Linked DNA regions of Homo sapiens: region 1 is linked to region 2. Evidence: promoter capture Hi-C in 16 types of primary human blood cells and fetal thymus (Javierre and others, 2016). All regions are on one chromosome and are shown on one strand. Each heading gives the region's core, a stretch centred on a gene start or on the middle of the fragment in contact. The rest is flanking DNA. Distances are from core to core; before and after follow the strand shown.

Region 1 (5,569 bases), core at 1,971-4,470, 660 kb after region 2:
AAGGATTAATTTTTCTGCTAAAATTGTTTTAGCTAGAAATATGTGCAGACGTTTATAATCTTTTTACTTTTTTAAAATAATGTGGGAAGATACTGCTTCTTTTAAAATTGTACACTGGTGCATGTATACAAGTTGCCAATCACCAGTACCAACATACCATGGGCAGACCTCTCACCTCTCCGTACCCGGGCTGCACTCAGGACCCAGAGAGAGCAGAACCCAAAGAGGCCCTTAGAGGCACAGGACAGGATCCACCTCACAGTCCCCTGGGGAATACAAGATGCCAAAGCAGCAGGGAATCTCCTTAATAAACAGGAAGGAAGATATGTAAATCAAGCCAAGAGATTTAATAGCATCTGCCACTTGCAGCAAAATATCCCCCAGTCCAAGAGAATGGGTGTCCTGCTAGCAGCCACCACTTCCCACTGATTCTTCCTCCTCCTGCAGTGTCATCCTTCCTGCAGCCCACCCTCTCCCTCAGCAGAAACCTGGAGTATGTCTTCAGAGGAAAAGAGAATATTCCACTGCCTACATGTTTCCATCCTGCCTGGTGCCTCTAAGTCAGATCCAGGGCTCACCCAGAGGCCACGCTTCCAGCCTCCAGCACTCCTAACTCTGTTCCTCTTCCCTGCCACTGTGGGCCAAGCTCACCAAGGATCCTCGGGCCAACATTCTGATTCCCCACCCTCTCCTGACAGCAGCCACTCTCCTGGTGGCATGAGTGGAGGCTGGCTCTGCCTGTTTTGGGGCTTTGTATCATGATATCTGGCTTCTTTTGCTCTGAGGCTCATCCGCTGCTGTGTGGCTCGTTGCTGTGCAGTGGCACTCGGTGTGAATACACCACGCTTTATGTGCTGGACTGTGGAAAGGGATTCGGTTGGGGTGAGCCTGGGGATGCTGTCAACAGTGCTGCTGTGAATACTCACGTGCATGGCTTGGTGCAACTGTTGGAGGTGCACACAGTTGGAGGTGCTTGGGTCATGGGGTGTGTGACCAGCTATTGAAGTCGCTGGCAAACAGTTTTGCAAAGTGATTGTTTAGAAATCCTTATTCTCATTCCTTCTGTTTGCTTTTCCCATCTGCAAATTCCAAACATGTATTCCCATCCTGTGGCCTCCTGGGTTACTCCACCTTCGTTCCCTTCCCTGTTAGCAGATGATCTTACCCCATAACTCAGAAAAAGTGGAGGTCCCAGGCAGGAGCCAGCTCTCAGACACTGGGCCCCATTCTCCAAAGGAAAGCTGCTTCCCCCAAACTCAGCCCTCCCTGGGGCGCTGGAGCCAGCCTTGGGGAGGTCACCCTGAGCTCTTGTATAGCTCTCCAGTACCTCCTTATCAAAGACACCTGCCTACTTCTCCCATCATGGAGCCGTCACACAAAGATACACACACTGACACATAGACACACACACACACACACACACACACACACACACACACACCCCCTGCCCCATGAAGTTTACTGAAAGAACTGGTTCCACTTCAACTTCCTTTTCCTTAGTCTCGGTCACCCCACCTTCCTTGCCACTGGCCTCCTGCCTAGTGTGGCACCTGTGTGAATGGCCCAGTGTTCTGATGGTCACATCCAAAGGTCCTGTGAGTTCCCACCAGGCAGCCTCTTCCCTCCTTGCACTATGCGAGTTTCTGCACACTCTCGGGCTGCTCCCCATCCTGGGCATGGTGCTCCGCAGGGCTGCCTCTTCTCTTCATCTCTGGTTTTCATCCATTCTTATTTCCCCAACTACCACCTACTGGTGGTCATTTTCAAACCACCTGTGTGAATGCACCACCCTGTGAGCTCCAGACAACTGCCAGTGCGGTTCCTGTAGACATTTCAGCTCCAACTGGTTCTGCATCATCATCTGCATCTGCGGACCCTTCTGGATAATCTTTAAAGGTTGGATTCTTTGCCACTTCCATCTCGCTCGCCACCTTCACTGCACTGCTCCTGAAGCACCTCAGTTCTTGCTGTGACAGTCCTAAAATCCCATCTCCCTCCTTGCCCCCCACCCCTGGCTACCCCTGCTTTTATTCAGGCCCTTTGCATTTCCTGCCTGAGTTATCTTAAATGCTTCTTCCCTCTCTGTCGTTCTGTCTCTCAGAGTCAGTTACCACTGTGCTACCAGGCTCGATCACTCATTTATTTCTCAAAAATTTTACTAAAAAAACTGACTACATGCCAGGCACTGTTCTCCACAAAGGAAGGGGAGCCTCAAAAAAGACAGCAAACTCCTTCCCTGCACTCACAGAATGTATGTCTCGTGAGGGGAAGACAGAAAGAAACCACTGCATCATGTTAGTAGTGCCACCTTCCACAGAAACGAAAGGCAGCCACATGTTTCCGTGGCTGAGGATGGAGCGCTGAGGCAGTGAAAGAAACAGGCCACCTGTGCAAAGGTACGAGGAAGAATGACACAGGCGAGAGCAAGGGGATGGAAACTGCTTGGCCTCTTCTTTTTTCTTTAAAAAAATTGATACATAATAATTGTACATATTTATGGGGTACATGTGGTATTTTGATACAAGCTTACAATGTGTAATAATCAAACCAGGGTAATTGGGATATCTTTAACCTCAAACATTTAGCATTTCTTTGTATTGTAAACATTTAAAATCTTTTCTATTTCAAACTATACAATAGTTATTGTTAACAATAGTCATCCGACTATGCTACCAAACACTAGAACTTATTCCTTCGACCTAATTGAACTTTTATATCCATTAAGCATTCCCTCTTCCTCCCTCTCCCCTCCACCCTGCGCAGCCTCTGGTAACCACCAATCTACTCTCTACCTTCATGAGATCCACTTTTTTAGCTCCCACGTAAGAGTGAGAACCTGCATTATTTCTCCTTCTGTGCCTGGTTTATTTCACTTAATATAATGGCCTCCAGTTCCATCCATGTCGCTGTAAATGACAGGATTTCATTTTTTCCTTTATAGCAGAATAGTACTCTATTGTGTATATATACCACATCTTCTCTAACCATTCATCCGCTGACGGACACTTAGGTTGATTCCATATCTTTATTTTATTTTTCAATAAGTTATCGGGGTACAGGTGGTATTTGGTTACATAAGTTCTTCAGTTGTGATCTGTGAGGTTTTGGTACACCCATCACCCAAGCGGTATATACTGCACCATATTTGTTGTCTTTTATCCCTTAACCAACCTTCCACTCTTGCCCACAAGTCCCCAAAGTCCACTGTATCATTCTTATGCCTTTGTGTCCTCATAGCTTAGCTCCCACATATCAGTGAGAACATACGATGTTTGGTTTTCCATTCCTGAGTTACTTCACTTACAATCATAGTCTCCAATCTCATCCAGGTCACTGCAAATGCTGTTAATTTATTCCTTTTTATGACTGCATAGTATTCCATCATATGTATATAGCACAGTTTCTTTATCCACTCATTGATCGATGGGCATTTGGGTTGGTTCCACGATTTTGCAATTGTGAATTGTGCTGCTATAAACATGCGTGTGCAAGTATCTTTTTCGAATAATGACTTCTTTTCCTCTGGGTAGATGCCCAGTAGTGGGATTGCTGGATCAAATGGTAGTTCTACTTTTAGTTCTTTAAGGTGATACCATATCTTGACTACTGTGAATAATGCTGCAATAAACATGGGGGTGCAGACATCTCTTCAACATACTAATTTCATTTCTTTTGGATAAATACCTAGTGGTGGGATTGCTGCATCATTTAGGTTTTTGAGGAACCCCCATACTATTTTTCATAATGGCTATACTAACTTACATTCCCACCAAGAGTGCATAAGCATCCCCTTTCTCCATATCCTTGCCAGCATTTGCTTTTTCTCTCTTTGATAACAAGCCCTTCTAACTTGGCCTTTTACATACTACAAGAGGAACAGATGGGAGGCCAGTATGGCATTATTGGCATTGGAAAGAAGCTTGGTTTGTATTCACTGTCACTAGCTGCATAATTGTAAGCAGGATCCTACTCAAATGGTGTGTGCAGTGTGGCATCCTGCTCTTCCAGTGGCCCTGATTCTCCCCGCCGGCCCCACCTCAGCCTCAGCACGGAGTGTCCTCTCTCGCTGAACTGTCCTGTCCTCACGACCCATCCATCCTTCAAGGCCCATCTCAATACTACATGTCACAGAAAAGAAACAGCTGCCTCTCCCCCGTGCCTGGGCCCCTGCATGCTCCTTGACTTCATGGTAACATCTGTGTATCTTCTTAGACGGGGCCTCCTCAATACCAGGAGGAGCTGTATCCATCTGTGCTGCTCAGCACTGTGCAGTGCCAGCCAGGGCATGTGATGGGCCCCAGCAAGTGTTCACAACTAGGAGATTAAATGAGTGCATTTCTGAATGGCAAGACTGGGCAGAAAGGGCCTGTGTACATAATGCGATTTATTTATTTTACTCTCTTAACACTTACTTCACAGGGACATATGGTAAAGTGTGTTCCTAGGAAGAGGTGAAGATTAGGTAATATCCTCATCAATATCATCAAAGGAATCCAGTTCACTTGCATGGCACGGGGACCACTAAGAACAAGTCCAGGCAATTTTCAGGTGGATGTCTATTTCTATTTTTACTAAAGACTCCCACACACATAACAGTCAACTGTACAAGGCTTGGAAACAATTTAATGGTTGCAAAAGCATAAGAGAGGAGAAACTAGAATGCCATGAAGTGGGATTACAAAGTAGATTCTGTACATAGAGTAAGTATCTTTGCTATACATCAGCATTTCTATTCCAATTCATCACTGATGGAAATTGTATTGCTCTCCTCAGTGTCCTGTGGATTATTTTTATTTTTTGCCCTAAAGAAACATTGGAAGCAAAGGACCACAGAGAACTTCTAAGATATGGACCATTTAAAAATATATAGTTTATGATTAATATGTAACTTAAAAACTACTTATTAACACAATGTTACCTCCAGAAGCAAGCAGTGCTTCATGATCAATGAGCACTGTTTCCTTTCTAAGCTCCCATTCATGTTGGGGTGTCCCTGCAGATGCATAGGTTACAATATTCACTTCTGCACACAGATCTTTCAGGGAGTTTCTACAGATCTCTTTCCTGAGCACCAGTATTTGACTAATAGCTGAAATCCTCCCCTCATTTAGGCCTTGCATGGGGTCGGCTGTCCTTTGCACCTTTGGGTCTCATCAGAAGTAAAACTAGTCTGGCCTTGCTTTGCAGTCCACAGAGGAGGGGCCCTTGGGGTCCTTGCATAAGAATGCTGGTGCCTAGGGCTTAGGTCAACGCTGCAGGCAGGAAGGCACAATCAGGTTTCTCATTAGCTTCAGTTGCCCCATCTAGATCTGTTTTGAACATAATAATTGTGCTCTTGATGCCAACAGCTTCAGACACTTCTTAGACAAGCATACTCAAGTATCATCTTCTTCCCATATGTGGCAACCACAAACAAAATATAAAAACTCCTACAACCGAAAATAAATTTATTAATGGTGATGTGCTCCCATAAGACGTGGAAGCTGCAGACATCTTAACCTTCCGGAAATGATAAAAATCCTTTGGCACAGGTCTAGGGTGTGAAATGCACTCCCTCTGCACAGTAACA
Region 2 (5,554 bases), core at 586-3,085:
GTTATTCGCATAAGCTTCCTCACATTGTTACCTTTAAACAGAACTATAGATGTATCATATTGCTAGATATATAGAATTTACTTACATATCCACAAGAAAAATTTATGAAAAATTTTTGTTTCCTAACAGTATTTCAATTAAATGAAAACCAAGAAACCCTACTTTAGGTTCAAGTATTTGAAATTTTGCCTTCCAAATTACTTGTAAGTACAACAGCCAGGTTTAATGCAGCTTTTATCTCCCATAATGCCTTACAAAGACATTTGTCACATTGTAAGTAGGTGTTCACAAATCTTTGTTTAAAAAACAATTAGAAAACTTAAGATCCAGAGCTTTAAAGACACTGTAATTTATTTAAAGCTGTAAAGCTAAATAAGCTAGAGTCAAAACTAGATCTGACCTCTTCTGTCAAGCAGTTCATCCTTTTTTTCACTATACCATTTTGATGTTAAACTCATTTATACAATACTAGAAATGAGAAACTGAAAGAAAGGTGACTCAGAAAACACTTGACACAAACTTTCACAATTAATATTATCATTCTCTTCCTCTCCATGGCTTCATTCCCCTTTATCATCTGTTATCCTGAAATTTCTACCATACCTCAGAGTTCTAGTCACTGTTCTCAGAATAAACCCCCTTCTCTTTTCCATCTTCACCTTTCCTTCAATATTCATCTTCCAAGTCTTACTTCTTCCTTTCAATTCAATCATTTAAATGGCAAATAAGGATAACCAAAAACTGGCCATCACCGATCAGTGACACAACCATTGTCTTGTTTACCATTTCCAAGTCAATTTAACCTTTATGGCCTTTCCTAGATCTAAAAAGTATGATTAATTAGCACTGTCATATGAACTGCATTTCAATCTTCTTTATTTTGCCAATGTTCTGATTATTTTAATAATGTCATTATCTGTCTTCCTAGACAGTTGGCTTCTGCAGGGAGGAATTGTTTTCCATTCCATTCACATTGTCTTAGTACCTAGAATACAGTGTCCTTTGGAATAATAGCTACTAAAATACTGACGGAGTGCCTACTCAGTACCAAGCACTGTGCAAGCCTTTCATAGGATTCTGTTCTTGATGCAAAACGGGAGTTAAGAGCACAGGGTCTGGAGCCAGGCTGCCTGCTTTCAAATCCTGGCTCTATCATCTGCCAGCAGTGACTGCAGGAAAATCTCTTAATGTCTTTCTGCCGGTTTTCACCTATAAAAGAAGCGCAGCAACATCACTGAGCTGACAAGGTATTTTAATTCTGCAAAGCACTAGACAGAGGACTCAGCACTTAGAAAATACTCTATAAAATACTGCTTCTTCTGATTCCTCACGATGACCCCTGAAAGGTATGAGCCCTTCTTTCTCATCACAGAGATTAAGAGCTTGCCTGGGTCACAGGGGAACTGACTGACCCCCGCTGTGGGCGCCCAGAGCCCCGCTGGGCCCAGTAAATGCCTGCGGTAAGCGGCCCCGCCCCCGGACAGGCTCTGCCAAAGGAAGCCGCCCGCAGACCTGGCCCCGAGCCTGCCGTCCACGCCGGGCCCCAGCTTCCTAATCCTGGATGAGTCTGGTTCTGGGCTAGCGGGTCAGCCACCCTCCCGCTAAGACAGAAGCAAAAGGGCACAGCCACTGCCTGGCTCCCGCCTCCCACGGCCTCCCGCGAAGTCACCGCCCCGCGACCCCCAGCATTCCAGAGGCACACGCCCGCCTCTCCCCTACGCCCCAACCCTGATGCTCCACAGGGGTCAGCAGCGCCCCTGCCCCGCCTCCCGTCACCGCATCCTACCTGCGGCTGGTGTGGGACGCTGGCAGCCTCCGAAAAGCGCGGGGACTGACGTGCGCCTGCGCGCTGCTGTCGCCCTCGGACTCGCGCCGTACGTGCGTGCGTGAGTGCGTGAGTGCGTGCGTGCGTGCGTTCGGCGCGCGGGGCGTGGGCGCGGCACCTGGGCCCGGGCACCGCCACCTAGGCCCTAGCTCCGACCAGTGGTGTTCTATAAACGCTTATTACATCATTGTGCATAGGCTTCATTTTTAAAAGTACTCCCAAATAAATACAAGGAGGCGATGGAAATTGAATGAAGATTCGAAGGATTCCCATAGAGCGTGGCTCACTTCCCCTCACCGGGACAGCGAGCGGCGGCTCACCTGGGAGAGCAAAGCGTGGCTCTCCTGCGCCCACCCGGGAGAGCAAACAATGGCTCACCTGCGCCCACCCGGGAGAGCAAGCGTGGCTCACCTGCGCCCACTCGGGAAAGCCAGCCGCCATCCTGTGCTGCAGGCAGGGAGCGGGCGGCGGGAGAGGAGCGGATCCACTTAGGTCAGCGGTTAAAACGTCGTTACAAGAGGCCACCCCGGCATCGCGGGGCCTGTGGCTGCGCCCCCTCTTGAATTCAGGCCTAGCACATCACCTCCGCCCCTCGCACCCTGCAGTCTGCGCTCCATACAGCACGTGAGCGGGTGCTCAGCAATGTTCCCTGGCTGAAAGAACCGCATAGAGTAGCATGCAAAAATGACATGCATGTTTAAGATAAAATAAGGGAGAGGACACCTGTTCTGACTGAGTCTGGCAACTCAGATCTCCCCGCAGCCAACATCTACATTCCTTTGGACAGCTGTCTGCTGTGTAGGGACACCTCCCTGGAACTTTGAAAAGCACCCCATCATTACCTTCCACTTTGTTCTGGAGCAAGGTTTCAAAAGAAGAGTGCCGTATTTTGATTAATTTAGTGAATTGGATTTTCAGACACAAGTAAGAGCATCCACTCAGTGGCCTCTGCAGTAAATAATGATATCAGATCACATAACAAGAAGACTGGAGGTTGGCGGGAAATCTGGACCTGGTGACTCAAAGAAGTCATGAAGGACCATCTCTCCATTCTGCCACCTTCTCGCCTGTGGATTTTCCTCCCCAGGCTTGTCACTTCATTGTCGAGAGATGCCCTCACAATCCAAGCCAGGCAGCCTCACATGACCAGATCTAAAACACAAAGAGGGAGCCAAACTGAGAAAGGACCTTTTCCCTCTGAACACTTCTCTCTTGGAAAAAGAAAATGTTTCCCAGAAAGCCTCATAGCCTTCCTCTTATATCTCCTTGACTAACTGGGACCCGGATCCCTGGATATCCTTTCCTGAGAAAGAGAGGGTCTGGGGCAGGGGATAGAGAAAATGACTAGCAACTAGCAGCACATGATGTTTAAACATAAGATTTAAAGAAATGCAAGGCACAAACAATTTGAAGACTTTTTTTAAGTTTTTAAAATCTTCACAAAATAAAAAGGAATTGGACAATGCACTTTAAAAACTAGAAGACGTTTCACTGAAAACAGCATCTCCTAATTCATTTCATGGCTTAGATAGTAATAGAAAATTATTTTATTCTAATTCCATACTTTATCAACTAATTTTAATTATTTTATAATTACCCAAAATATGTCATGTAGAATGAAAATAAAAGAAAATGAAAACAGTTATATCAAGGCCAAGTCAGTTGTATGTTTACTGGCTATTTAGAAATTTCTAAATACGTGTATATTTAGAAATGACTATATAGATACTATTTGGGTAATGTTAGGGATGGAAAGTTTATGTCCCCCCAAAATTTGTATGTTGAAATCCTAAGCCCAATGTGATGGTTTTAAGGGGCGGGGCCTTTGTGAGGTGATTAGGTCATGAGAGTGGAGACTTCATGGATGAGAATAGTAAGTATCCTTATAAAAGAGACTCCAGAGGCTGGGTGCAGTGTCTCATGCCTGTAATCCCAGCACTTTGGGAGGCCGAGGCAGGTGGATCGCCTGGGGTCAGGAGTTCGAGACCAGCCTGGCCAACATGGCAAAACCCTGTCTCTACTAAAAATACAAAAATTAGCCAGGTGTTGTGGTGGGCACCTGTAATCCCAGCTACTTAGGAGGCTGAGGCCTGAGAATTGCTTGAACCCAGGAGGTGGAGGTTGCAGTGAACTGAGATCGCGCCACTGCACTCCAGCCTGGGGGACGGAGTGAGACTGTCTCCAAAAAATAAAATACAATAAAAGAGACTCCAAAGAACTTTCTAGCCCTCTTGCCACCACCTAAGGATGCAAAGAGTTGACAGCAACCTGGAAGAGCCCTCACCAGAACTCGACCATTCTGGCACTCTGACTTCCAGCCTCCACTGTGAGAAATAAATTTCTATTGTTTATGAGCCACTCAGCATATGGTACTTTGTAGCCCTAGACAGGCTAAGACAGGTAATTAGCAATTTTAGGTGATTTTCATCATCAAAATTTTCATGATGGCATTTTGGAGAATTCACATAAACCACTCTGTTACCCTCCTAAAAGTATTGCTCAAATACTGAATTATATTTATGCTTGCCAAAGTTAATTTTTTTCCAACAAGTAACACTAGCCACTTCATTTTGTGCTTTTGATACAAAAGCATTTCCCAATCCAGCGGCTTTCATCTTCTGGCCTGGTTGGCAAAAGTGTAACTCACTTCTGCACCCTCTCTGAACCCTAGTCTCCTCCTCAAATGTAAAACAGTAATAAACCTTTCTTACCCAGGAAGCCATTATAAGGATTATAATCAACATAAGATATAATTCTTTAATTATCAAAGCAGTTGCTGGCATGTGGCAGGCATTCAACAGAAACCGTGTTGCTATGTTATTTTTATTGTTACCATTAATATTCCTATTGGGATTGAAACCCTTATGTCATATCAAAACTTTTCCATCTTTGACAAATGAGACATATTAGGATAGTATCTTAATAATATGTAAGAGTTTAGTGCTTGAGCTATTCAATTATTAAACTTTGCTTCCAAGACCACAGACTGGTGGTATATACTGTGTGCGTGTGTGTGTGTGTGTGTGTTTGTGTGTGTGTATGAGAAAGAATATGCTGTTCTTTTCTTCTTCTGGGTAGAAGTTGTTGAGCCTTCAAGGGAAGAGGTTTTCACCTACAGCAGACAGTGCCAGTTCTCTTGGTGTGAGGGATTCTGGGAGATGGCTGCCCATTTCCATATTCATGAATTTTATAAACATGGTCTCAGATAAATGCAAGTGTACACTTCGGTGAGCTCATTTGTTTTTGAGCAGAGGGGATAATACGGCCCTAAATAATGTGCTTCCCTGTCAGCCAGGAGAGTTACATTCTGGAGATGTGTGTGTCGGTGGGTGCGGGAGGCAGGTGGTGTTGAGGAGATAGGGAAGCCAACAGGACAAAGCTCAGAGGGAAAACAGCCCAATCTAAATCCAGTTCTTTCTCTGTGTGGATTCCCACTGACTTCCAAACCTCTCAGCTCCCTGACTCAGTGGTAAGGAAGAAAAAAGTACCAGGATTGAGGGGATGGTGTTCTAGCCCTCCAGCAGAGGAGTAAGATGTGTGAGCCCAGGGTGAAGCAAGTGCACAATTTTAGTAAAAGATTTTCATTGGCCATACTGAATGAATCATAAAGGGATGTGAAGAGGCTACCTCTGGCATCATTGTCATAAACACAGCTGGTGAGGGGGGAGGTGGTGTTCTCCTGGTGTCAAAAGACAAAATTATTTACAGATCAAATTGGCTTTTATTCAT

Evidence for each region. Contacts are between HindIII fragments. The CHiCAGO score rates a contact against its expected background, and 5 or more counts as called.
Region 1: a fragment that was not itself captured here is called in contact with the fragment with the promoter of FIGNL1 in region 2 in 1 of 17 cell types (M0 macrophages); the score reaches 5.5 in M0 macrophages.

What each region holds. Positions count from the first base shown.
Region 1 is chr7:51,107,517-51,113,085 of GRCh38, forward strand. The region is part of intron 6 of COBL (cordon-bleu WH2 repeat protein); the gene reads right to left. Among named protein-coding and RNA genes, the nearest start is that of COBL, 210 kb to the right of the region's middle. RefSeq lists an enhancer at 3,688-4,189. The HindIII fragment of the contact is 1,394 bases long and covers 2,524-3,917 here.
Region 2 is chr7:50,448,515-50,454,068 of GRCh38, forward strand. FIGNL1 (fidgetin like 1) reads right to left here and starts at 1,836. Exons shown (of 4, transcript NM_001287492.4): 1 at 1,787-1,836; 2 at 604-1,209. RefSeq lists silencers at 1,357-1,651, 1,793-1,982. The HindIII fragment of the contact is 8,767 bases long and covers 13-5,554 here.